Linked DNA regions of Homo sapiens: region 2 is linked to region 1. The links are contacts of gene promoters, found by promoter capture Hi-C in blood cells and fetal thymus (Javierre and others, 2016). All regions are on one chromosome and are shown on one strand. Each heading gives the region's core, a stretch centred on a gene start or on the middle of the fragment in contact. The rest is flanking DNA. Distances are from core to core; before and after follow the strand shown. Region 1 holds the start of ZKSCAN2 (zinc finger with KRAB and SCAN domains 2). Region 2 has its middle 50 kb from the start of C16orf82.

Region 1 (5,712 bases), core at 2,164-4,663:
GGTACCCTAAGCTTCTGGGGCTAAAATTGGCTCAATTTTTAACATTTGGGAAACAAGTGATTAGGTTGTGTTTTCTAATAAGCTATCTACCTCCCAGAATAAGGATTTTTGTTTTGCCCACTGACATACATGTAGCCGAACTGGTGTCCAGGCCACTCGTCGCCTGAAAGCCAAAAACTCAAAAGACAAGCTTTGGTGAAAGCAAAGTTAGCTTTATTCGAGAAACCAGCAACCTGCAAAAGGCAGTGCACTAGCATTCAAAGACCACCTTTCTCAGTTGTGCCTCTAGATCCAGGGATTTTAAGGAAAATTAGGAGAAATAATGATCAAAACATTCTTGTGGGCCAGGAGCGGTGGCTCATACTTGTAACCCCAGCAATTTGGGAGGCCGAGGCAGGTGGATCACTTGAGGTCAGGAGTTCGAGACCATCCTGGCCAACATAGTCAAACATCATCTCTACTAAAAATACAAAAATTAGCCAGGTGCGGTGGCACACGCCTGTAGTCCCAGCTACTCAGGAGGCAGAGGCTACAGCGAACCAACATCACTGCACTCCAGCCTGGGAGACAGACCAAGACTGTCTCAAAAAACAAAACAAAGAAACATTCTTGTGAATCATGCGCAGTCTCAGATGGGCAGTTAGTCATTACTTTCTTGGTCAATGCCTTGTGACTAGACTGTGCAGGGGCCATCAGCCTGTTCCCAAAGCTGCGGGTCTGTGTGTTTTATCTGTTGAAGAAGGTCCTGTTTTTTTCTGTGGCTGTTTTTAGTGAATAGTTTACAAACTCAGGCAAAACAATAATTATACTCAAGCAAGCAAGCTTTTCTCTAACATAGAGTCAGTACTGCTGTTACCCGTTGCAGGGCCTAGGGGACTTAGCTGGACGCCTACCTGGCTTTTGTTACCCAATGCAATGCCTCCATGACATAGCTAAATTCCTACTCAGATTTAACTCTGCTTATTTTTAGAAAACAGGTTGTCTGTGGTCATAGGTTCCTTCTTAGCTTACTCGACCTCTGAAGAACCTCTAGCTTCATTCTAATCCAACTTCAGTACTAAATGACATTCCCACTGGTTGCCATGACAGTTGACAATCACCGTGATGACCCGAAGAGACCAAAAAAAGGACAAAAAAAGGGGCAGCTCCTTGATTCCAGGAAAATCTACCTCCCTTCCCAAGAAAAAACATGAATATTCCTCCTCTTGTTCTTAATTTTTATTTTTTTTAGAGACAGGGTCTTACCATGTTGCCCAAGCTGGTCTCCAATTCCTGGGCTCAAGCTTTCCTTCTGCCTCCTCGCCTTGCTCTTAATGCCCAGCCCCTTCATTAAGGACACCTGACGACTAAGCTCTGATTCTTTTGTTTTTTTTTTCTGTTTTGTTTTGTTTTTGACACAGAGTCTCACTTTGTCAACCAAGCTGGAGTGCAGTGGCACAATCTCAGCTCATTGCAACCTCCGCCTCCCGGGTTCAAGTTGAGTCTCATGCCTCAGCCTCCCAATCAGCTAGAATCACAGGCGTGTGCCACCATGCCCAGCTAATTTTTGTATTTTTAGTAGAGACGGGGTTTCGCCATGTTGGCCAGGCTGGTCTTAAACTTCTGACCTCAAGCGATCCACCTGCCTTGGCCTCCCAAAATGCTGGGATTATAGGCGTGAGCCACCACGACCAGCCTAAACTCTTGATTTTTTTAATCCTGCCCAAATTCCTATCTAAGGGATCTGGGGAGTCATGACCTACAAACCATAAATTCTCATCAGATGGGTTTTATTTAATCCTATATATGATGACTTACTTTCCATTCTGACTCTGGCATAACATTACGTGACAAAAAGAAAGTCAAAATATTTTACCCCAAAACATGTTTCCTTGCCCTATTTTGCAATTTCTTCCATAAAGGACAGCATTTTCCCCCAAAAGCTATCCTTTGTGGGGTAAAATGTGCATCTGTAAAGAACATCTATTAACATAGCTAGATGTTTTTCTTCCAGGCCCTCCCAATCCTAAACGGATTAACTAAAAGTCTAACACCTTTTGAAGATCTGAATAGGAAACATTTGTCATCTATTATCTCTAAGAGCAGCCACCATAAGACTTCAAAAGAACCTTAGTCTCCACTATCTTTTATCTTAACCTGAACACTTCCTTTCTATCAATCCCAGGTCTTCAGACAAACTCAACCAATTGTCAACTAGAAAATATTTAAATTTACCTATAGCCTGGAAGCCCCCACCCCCACCCCTTTGCGTTGTCCCGCCTTCCTGGACCAAACCAATGTATTTAATGTATTTGACTGATGTCTCATGCCAACCTAAAACATAAAACCAAGCTGCACCCCGACCACCTTGGGCACATGTTCTCAGGGCCTCGAGAGGGCTGTATCACAGGCTGTGGTTACTCGTATTTGGCTCACAATAAATCTCTTCAAATATTTTGCACGGTTTTACTTTTCGTCAACACTCCCTATTACCTGTAACTTCTCAGTTTCCAAGAGCTGAGAGCTTGATTTGCGAGCTACCCTCCCACTTCTCCAATTCCATGGCCACTGAATGAAGGCTGCACTGCCTGATACTCACACTTGGTCTCATGCGCTGGCTCTGCAACAACGGACAGACAAGAGTTCCTTTGGGGGAAACCAGCTTCCCAGGTGACACTGTTGCCTCTGCTACATGCGCAAAGCGCAGCCTGGCACATAGTAGGTGCTCAAGAGAGGGAAAGCCGGGTCTATGAATTCAGGGACAGGGGCAGCACCAGAAGAGAGCAAGCTGGGGCCTGGCTGGCTGAACCCTGGCCCCGAGACCCCTGTGACCCCCCTTCTCATCAGGATGCACCACATGAACCTCCCCAACGCGAGGGCCAACAAGTGGCCCCAGATGAGACCGCGCCGGGAAGGGCCTGGGGCCACGCACAGATACTTCCGCCAGAAAAACACCACGCCGCGCCGTGCACCTCCGCCAGAGGAAGAAGGTCCCGCAGGGTCGGGGTAACCGCTCCATCCCCGACCGCAACCCTGGACCAGGTACAAGGAACAGATCCCTCCACCGGAACGCCGTGTCCCTCCGCCAGACACAGGAGTCCCCGCTCCCGTGCTCTCCTTCCCCGGCAGCCAGGCCCCGGTGCCGACTCCTCCGCCTCAGGGAGGCCCCGCCGCCGCCTAGATTCTCCGCCTGAAGCGGGACTCGCGACGGCAGGTTCCCTAGAATCCCTCTGTGTCCCTCCGCCCCGGGGAGGACCCTCCGCGCCCCTCTACAATCTTAAAGTCCCTCAGCGACGAGTCACCGCGCCGCGCGCTCTCGCGAGAGTCCACCGCACGGCCCCCCCCCCCTCCCCCAGCCCCTCGCCCGCCAGGACGCCTCGCGCGGGCCCCGCGGCGCTCGGTGGCAGGCGGCGCATGCGTGACTGCGGTTCCCAGCGCCCCCCGCGCTCTCCGCGGGCCGAGTGGACGAGGCCGAACGCGAGCAGCCTGCCGCTGCCCCCTGCGAGCCCTGGCTTCGCCCCGCAGCTCTTCTCCCTTCCGGGCGGAACAGTTTTTGCGGCCTTTCCTCGGCGGCAGCGGTTTCCTCAGGACGGTCGGGGCCGTCGTGGGCCCGAAAGAGCCCGGCGCCGCTCTCGGAATCCGGCGGCCCCAGCGGCACCCGCGGCGGCCTGGACGTGCTGCGGTGACCCGAGCCCGGAACCTGGCGCCGGGCGGGGCCTGCACATCCGGCCCCACCCACTCGGGGACTCGCCTCTCCGCGCCCGACCCGGGAGTAGCGGACACACCCCCTCCCGGCCCGGCTGTCCGCCTCCGCCCAGCCTTTCCTCAGCCTGCTTCATTTTTCTCCCAGTCGTCCAGCCTCCCGGTTTCCGACTTTGCACTAAGAGGGATGCACTCTGGAAAACCACATTGCGCGGTCACATCTTGTTTGGAGAAGAGGCCAGGCTTTTGCATCTTAGAGTATACGTTCACCTTTTCAAGGGCCTGGCATAGATTTGATTAATCAGCCTGGAATACCCTGTTCCTGCCGACCTGGCCGTTTTTACCTCCGTACCTTATCACACTCCCAGGAACATTAAGCAGGGAGCGCTTGGAGTCTTCTTTGGGTCCCCACCTTGAGCTAGACGTGAAGTTGACCCCTGGGCTGCAGCATGGCTGTCGCCCTCGACTCTCAGATCGACGCGCCCCTGGAGGTTGAGGGATGCCTAATAATGAAGGTGGAAAAGGACCCTGAGTGGGCATCAGAGCCCATTCTGGAAGGATCGGATAGCTCTGAGACCTTCCGCAAATGCTTCAGGCAATTCTGTTATGAGGATGTGACTGGACCCCATGAAGCTTTCAGTAAACTCTGGGAACTTTGCTGCCGGTGGCTGAAGCCAGAAATGCGTTCCAAGGAGCAAATACTTGAGCTGCTGGTGATTGAGCAGTTTCTCACCATTTTACCCGAGAAGATTCAGGCTTGGGCACAGAAGCAGTGTCCGCAAAGTGGAGAGGAAGCGGTGGCCCTGGTAGTGCATTTGGAGAAAGAGACTGGAAGACTAAGACAGCAGGTGAGAGAGGATTTTCCAAATTTTTGTACTTAGAAAAAAGGGAATGGGAAAGGCATGTGGGCAGGGATGTATTGCAGAAAGACGTGCTCTTCAGAGAAAGATAAATGGTACTAATAAAAGACCCTATAAGGGGGTCTTTTCACTTTAAGTGAATCCACTTAAAAGGGGATCAGAATTTCACATGAAATAGAAAAATAAAAGCTTTGATTGAAATATTATCTTACAATGGAAACCAGACATTATTCACCTAAGCATTTATCGTCATCTTTGGCATAATGTTTGCAACAAAACAATATAAGAGAACAATATGGTTTTGCGTCACAGAGGTTCACTTACGCATTTTGATCAAAAAAGGCTATTCTGTTCCCCCTTTAAAAAAAAAAAAAAAAGACTTCATCCGTTATCCCAGAGCCGTCTCCAAGCGTTTTACTGTTGCACTCAGTGTCTTCTGAAGTGCTCTCATGCCTTCATTTCTGTCACTCTCCTCCAGTCTAACTGCCACATCTTCATTTCTCAGTGGCTTGCATGCTCTTCTAGTTGTTCTTCAACCTCACTTTCATGAACCTCGTGAAATCCTGCAGCATTTGCAAGATTTGCGGTTTCACCTTGCATCAGACTTGCATTGTGTAGAGATCTATCAGCAGGTTGCTGTATTGGTCAGGGATAGACAGATAGATGTGGATATTAATTTTGTAAGTTTTCATTTCACTACTGTATATATTCATGTCCTGGTAACTTCTTTGCGAACGTAACAGATATAGAGTCAAATAATATCTATTCTAGCAACAAGGAGGCTCTTTCACTCCTGACAGATTTCCTTCTCTGTTTAGTATTAAATATTATTCTGGCCAGGCGCGGTGGCTCACATCTGTAATCCCAGCACTTTGGGAGGCCGAGGCATGTTGATCACCTGAGGTCAGGAATTCGAGACCAGCCTGACCAACATAATGAAACCCCATCTCTACTAAAAAAATATAAAATTAGCCGGTTGTGTTGGTGCATGCCTGTAATCCCAGCTACTTGGGAGGCTGAGAGAGGAGAATCGCTTGAACCTGGGAGGTGGAGGTTGCAGTGAGCCAAGATCGTGCCATTGCACTCCAGCCTGGGCAACAAAAGTGAAACTCTGTCTCAGAAAAAAGAACACTGTTCTGTTACCTTACACCCAGACTGCTGGACAGTACTC
Region 2 (6,317 bases), core at 434-2,933, 1.9 Mb before region 1:
TGCTGGGCTTAATACCAAAGTGATGGGTTGATCTGTGCAGCAAACCACCATGGTACACCTATGTAACAAACCTGCACATTCTGCACATGTACCCCAGAACTCAAAATAAAAGTAAAAGGAAAAAAAGTAAAGTAAGAGTATAGATTGGAAAAAAAAAATTGGCAAAGGATCTGAATAAACATTTTTCTAAGGAAGACATACAAATGGCCAACAGGTATATGAAAAAGTGCTCAATATCACTAATCATCAGATAAATGCAAACAAAACTACAGTGAGATATCTCGCACCTGTTAGGATGACTATTATCAAAAAGATAAGAGTTGGCAAGTGCTGGTGAGGGTGTAGAGAAAAAGAAATGCTTATACACTGTTGGTGGAAATGGAAATTAGTATAGCCATTAGGGCAAACAGTATGGGGGTTCCTCAAAAAGCCACAAATACAAGTACCACATGATCCAGCCATCTAACTTCTGGGTATATAGCTAAAGGCTGTGAAATTGCTATGTCGAAGAGGTATCTGCACCTCATGTTCATTGCAGCTGTATTCACGGTAGCCAAGATATGGAAACAACCTAAATATCCATGGATGGATGAATGGAGAATATTATTCAGCCATAAAAAGGAATGAAATCCTGTCTTTTGCAACAACATGGATGAACTTAGAGGAAATTATGGGAAGTGAAATAATCTAGACCCAGAAAGACAAATAATGTATGGTCTTATTTATATGTAGAATATTAAAAAGTTGAATTCATAGAAGTAGAGAGTAGAACAGTAGTTACTGGGTACATGGGGAAATGGTGGTCACAGGGCACAAACATTCAGTTATAACATGAACAAATTCTGGGGATCTGGTGTATGACATGGGTGATGATGGATATGTTAATGAATTTGATTGTGGTCATCATTAAACAATGTATATCAAATCATCAGTCATACACCTTAAAATATAAAATCTTTTTGTCAATTAAATACTAAACAAACACATAAAAAATCCAATATATGCACTGCTGAATTGGAGGTGGAACAGAATTTTACAAACTTCAATAACTCACACTGCATCATTAATGCTTTTTTGCCATATTCGGGTACCACCTATACTACTACTAACTTAATAGTCTTCTTTAAAGAGAGTCAATTTTAAAAAATAAATTTATTTAAAAGGAAACTTTACTTTGTCACCCTACATGGAAAATTGGCATCATTTTCCGTAAATAGGAGGTAATCATGAAAATGAATATGATGGGAACACACCAGTGTTTTGTAAGCTTAAGTAGAATATTCTCTTTTCTCTTGAAGGCTCTAAATCTGAGGTCAGTGCTTTATATATTGATAAAGACTAGCAGTGTTAGACTTTTAGGGAGGTGTTAAAGACATATTATCACCAAGCTGAGACTTTCTCATAATTATGAGGCTTTTGAGATAATTGATCTGGGAAGAATTTTCTCATTACGCAGCTCAATGTTTTTTAACGCTTTATTTATTTTCACCAAAAATTATCGTATTTACCATCTAAAATTGTGTTCCATTATGGGTCTGTGTCTGTGGTAGAGAAAATTATTGCTCTCAAAATATCCACCGTCTTCTCTAAGTTTCTCAACTTCCTTTGCAGATGGTTGGGATCATGTGACTTCTTCTGGGCACTGGCTGGTGAGTGCTACTATTGGGCTGTGGCAGTGAAGTGCCGTTTCACTGCTGGGCTGTGGCAGTGTAATGCTAGTGGGCTTTTTCCAGCTCCCTTTTGCATTCCATCCTCCTCCTTGCATTCCAGATATCACAGCCATAGGGACACCTGGACTCTACATGAGTGAGAAATACATTTACTGTGCCAAAGCACTGAGATTTCAGGTTAATTTGTTACTGCAGCATAGTCCAGGGGCACCCAATCTTTTGGCTTCCCTGGGCCACATTGGAAGAACTGTCTTGGGCCACACATAAAATACACTAACACTAATGATGGCTGATAAGCTAAAAAAAAAAAAAAAGCGCCATGCATAAATCTCATAATGTTTTATGAAAGTTTTTGAATTTGTGTTGGGCCACATTCAAAGCCATTCTGGGCTGCATGTGGCCTGCAGGCTGCAGGCTGGACAAGCTTGGTTTAAGCTATTCTGACTGTTGTGAACATGTGGCCCCCACTTGGGAAATATTATCTTTGAAAAACTTTTTTTTTTTTTTTTTTTTTTGAAATGGAGTCTCATTCTCTTGCCCAGGCTGGAGTGCAGTGGTGCTATCTCAGCTCACTGCAACCTCTGCCCTCTGGGTTCAAGCAATTCTCCTGCCTCAGCCTCTCAAGTAGCTGGGATTACAGGTGCACGCCACCATGCCCGCCTAACTTTTGTATTTTTGGTAGAAATGGAGTTTTGCCATGTTGACCATGCTGGTCTCGAACTCCTGACCTCAAGTGATTTGCCCGCCTCAGCTTCCCAAAGTGCTGAGATTACAGGCGTGAACCACCACGCCCGGCCTTTCTTTGAAAAACTTTTGACTAATGTTGGGCCTTCTCAGTTGGGACCCTTATTTCCTTTCTCCTACTCTCCTCCCTTACTGTTTCCTATTCTTCTTCCTTCTCTCTTCCTCCTCCCCTCCCCATGCATTCAGCTAATTCCGTCTCTGATTACCCAACATCACTCTGGGCTCTGCTGGAAGACTCAGAGCCTATAAAGCTTCAGAGGGGCCTCAGTGTTATTTTAGTCAGGCAAACTCCACAGGTAGGAGTTACTTCTCCACACCTCTGACAGTGTCACTTGCATACCTGCAGGAATAGGAAACTCGCTTCCTTTCATGGTAGTCCTTTCCATCACTGGGCAGCTCCATCTAAGAGGCACTTTCTCTTGTGATTAATCAGACAACATTTACACCCCCAGTCATTTCTACTCTTCCCCATGCAGAGTTCTTGCAGAATAGCTGTCCCTGATAAGGACAGCCCTTCCGAGGCCCAGGAAGAAGTCTCAAGGCTTCTCAGGCTCATTCAAGTCGCAAGACACACACACACCCAATGGAGGATTCTGGCAACGTACCATGTGGTAGAAATGTCAGTCCACATCTCAGGTGCATGGGAAATATCACTCTCTTTATTCATTCACTTCACACTATGGTTGGGATGTTTGTCTCCTCCAAATCTCATGTTGAAATGTGATTCCCAATGTTAAAGGTGGTGCCTAGTGGGAAATGGGGGCAGATCCCTCATGAATGTCTTGGTGCCCTCCTGGTGGTAATGAGTGAGTTCTCATTCTATTCATGTGAGATCTGGCCGTTAAAAATTTAGAGCCTGGGAAAGATGGTGACCAGAGGCTGCGAAGGGTAGTGGGGGGTGCCGGTTGGTGGCGGGGAGGAGTTGGGAAGGCTAATGAGTACAAAAATAGTTAGAAAGAATGAATAAGGGCCAGGTGCAGTGGCTCATGGCTGTAATCCCAGCACTTTGGGAGGCCAAGGCGGGTGGATCACTTGAGGTCAGGAATTCAAGACCAGCCTTGCCAACATAGTGAAACCCCATCTCCACTAAAAATACAAAAATTAGCCAGGTGTGGTGGTGGGTGCCTGTAGCTCCAGCTACTCAGGAGGCTGATGCAGGAGAATCACTTGAACCTGGGAGGAGGAGGTTGTAGTGAGCTGAGGTCATGCCACTGCATTCCAGCCTGGGCAACAGAGCGAGACTTCATCTCAAAAAAAAAAAAAAAAAAAAAAAAAAAGGAGAATTAGACCTAGTATTTGATAGATTTGATAGCACAACAGTGTGACTATGGTCAATAATAATTTAATTACACATTTATAAATAACTAAAAGAGTGTAATTGGCTTGTTTGTAACACAAAGGATAAATGCTTCCAATGATGGATCCCCCGTTTACCTTGATAGGATTATTATGCATTGCCTGCCTGTATCAAAATCTCTCATGTACCCCATAAATATATACACTACTATGTACCCACAAAAGTTGAAAAATTAAAGGAAGAATAGAGTCTAGGACCTCCCATGTCTCTCTTGCTCCCTCTCATCATGTGACACGTTGGCTCCTCTTCCTCTCTGCCATGATTAAAAGCTTCCTGAGGCCTCACCAGAAACTGAGCAGATGCTGGCACCATGCTTGCACAGCCTGCAGAACCTTGAGCCAAATAAACCTCCTTTCTTTTAATAAATTACCCAGCCTCAGGTATTCCTTTACAGCAATGCAAAATGGACTAACAAAGTTCATAACCATGTTTAATTTGTGTCCATTCTTCCAATCAATTTAGGTTTCCTTACATTCCTTGGGGTTACCCCTAAGTTCGGCAGGGGCGGAGGTCAGGGTGTTGGGGAGGGGACATCCATGATTTTCTGAGATTCTCAGCCAGTCTTTGACGTCAGGCCATGCGTGCTGCTGTGGCGCTGTGTATAACTGCATCCAAGTCTGAGGGATGCTCCTTGCTGCCCTCGAATGCCAACTCCTGGGTGCATTGAGATCAGGTGGGTGCCCATGCTAAGTTCAATGAGATGCACTGGGAAGTTACTGAGCTTTTCTTTCCTTTTCTTTTTCTTTTCTTCCTTTTTTTTTTTCTTGTTTTTTTTGAGGCGGAGTCTCACTCTATCGCCTAGGCTGGAGTGCAGTGGCATCATCTCGGCTCACTGCAACCTCCACCTCCCAGGTTCAAGTGATTCTCCTGCCGCAGCCTCCTGAATAGCCGGGATTACAGGGATGCGCCACCATGCCCAGCTAATTTTTGTCTTTTTAGTGGAGAGGGGGTTTCACCACATTAGCCAGGCTGGTCTCAAACTCCTGACCTCAGGTGATCCACCTGCCTCAGCCTCCCAAAATGTTGGGATTACAGGCATGAACCACCACGCCCAGACAATTACTGAATTTTTCTGAACCCTCCTGAGTCCTTCACCACGTCCACATTGCTCTTACACGCCTGGGACTCCTGCACTGCTCCACACCAGCTTGTGCATGGAGAGCTCTGGAAGCCTCTCCCAGCTACATTAGTCTAGGCACCGCCCCTACCTTCACAGGTCCACCTTCCTCTCCTGATTGGGCTTCAGCCTGGGTGGGGAAGACCCGGGACCCTTTCCCAGGGACCCTTCAGCATCTCATTCTCTTTGCTGCTCTTCAAATCCCTGGCATGGGGCAGGGCAGTGCTGGCTGCCTTACGTGCCTGGGTCTCATTGCTCCTTTCCACGACCCCAGTATGTTGGGTTCCATTTGGGTTTCCTTTTTAATAGATGGCGGAACTGAGGGCCAGAGAGGCAATGGGCATAGCAGAGCCAGGAGTGAAACCCAGGTGTGTCTGAGCCCTGTGCCAAAGCTCTTTCATCAGCACCCAGCTACTTCTCAGGAAGCACAACTGGGGATGTTACTGAAGTGCGAGAATTTGTGGACCCTGAGAGGTGATGTGGAGAGATTTGAGGCAAGAAAGGCCTGATCATAACCTGGAAAAGAGACCCCAGGGCACCCTCTGCCTTCAGGGGTTCCAGAGTGAGTGTCCTCACTCTCTCCAGAGTGAACATAAAGCTTTTTTTAATTCCACAAATATTTATCAAGACCCCTTATGTTCACTACTGCCAGGACTACAGCAGTGAACAAAAAGACTAGTGGAAAAAAAGACTGCCCTTGTGTAAGTAACTCTTTTTTTTTCAAAAGACAAGATCTCACTCTGTTACCCAGGCTGGGAATACAGTGGTGAGATCATAGCTCACTGTAGCCTCCAGCTCCTGGGCTCAAACAATCCTCCCACCTCAACCTCCCATGCAGCTGGGACTACAGGCACACACCACCATGCCTGGCTAATCTTTTTTTTTTTTTTTTGTATTGTTGTAGAGATGGGGTTGTGCTATATTGCCCAGACTGGTCTCAAACTCCTGGGCTCAAGCAATCCTTCTGCCTAAGCCTCCCGAAGCACTGGGATTATAGATGTGAGCCACCATGATGCTTGGCCAGAATCAACATTGCTATAGGTATAAACAGAAACAAACCCACAAAGAACTGAAGAGGTTAATTCTGGATTGGTTATCAGTCAAGTGAAGGATATGGATGAGTGTGTGTGACAGGTGGTCAGGGAAAGCCTCCCTGAAGAGTGACATTTGGGCTGAGACCAGCTGCATAAAGATCTGGGAACAGTGTCCCAAGGTAGATGGAACAGAAAATATGTGGCACTAACGAGGCCACAGGCTTGGTGCAGCTGAGGGACAGAAAGGAGCCAGGTATGGCCAGAGCATAGCAAAGGAGCTGGAAGAGTTGTGTGAGGGGGTTGGGAGCTGGGCAGGGGCTAGAGCATGAGGGTCTTATTGCCAGTTACCGTGCAGGCAGGATACAGACAGCACACTCAAGGGGTGGGGTCATTGG

Evidence for each region. Contacts are between HindIII fragments. The CHiCAGO score rates a contact against its expected background, and 5 or more counts as called.
Region 2: a contact is called between a fragment that was not itself captured here and the fragment with the promoter of ZKSCAN2 in region 1, in 1 of 17 cell types (endothelial precursors). The highest score is 6.4, in endothelial precursors.

The regions. Positions count from the first base shown.
Region 1 is chr16:25,255,546-25,261,257 of GRCh38, reverse strand. ZKSCAN2 (zinc finger with KRAB and SCAN domains 2) reads left to right here and starts at 3,413. Exons shown (of 7, transcript NM_001012981.5): 1 at 3,413-4,529. The coding sequence starts at 4,131. It overlaps ZKSCAN2-DT (ZKSCAN2 divergent transcript), which reads right to left and starts at 3,681. Exons shown (of 1, transcript NR_170220.1): 1 at 192-3,681. RefSeq lists enhancers at 2,552-2,631, 2,752-3,071, 3,487-4,047 and silencers at 3,282-3,481, 3,562-3,801. The HindIII fragment of the contact is 3,031 bases long and covers 1,286-4,316 here.
Region 2 is chr16:27,114,045-27,120,361 of GRCh38, reverse strand. No RefSeq gene overlaps it. Among named protein-coding and RNA genes, the nearest start is that of C16orf82, 50 kb to the right of the region's middle. The HindIII fragment of the contact is 827 bases long and covers 1,270-2,096 here.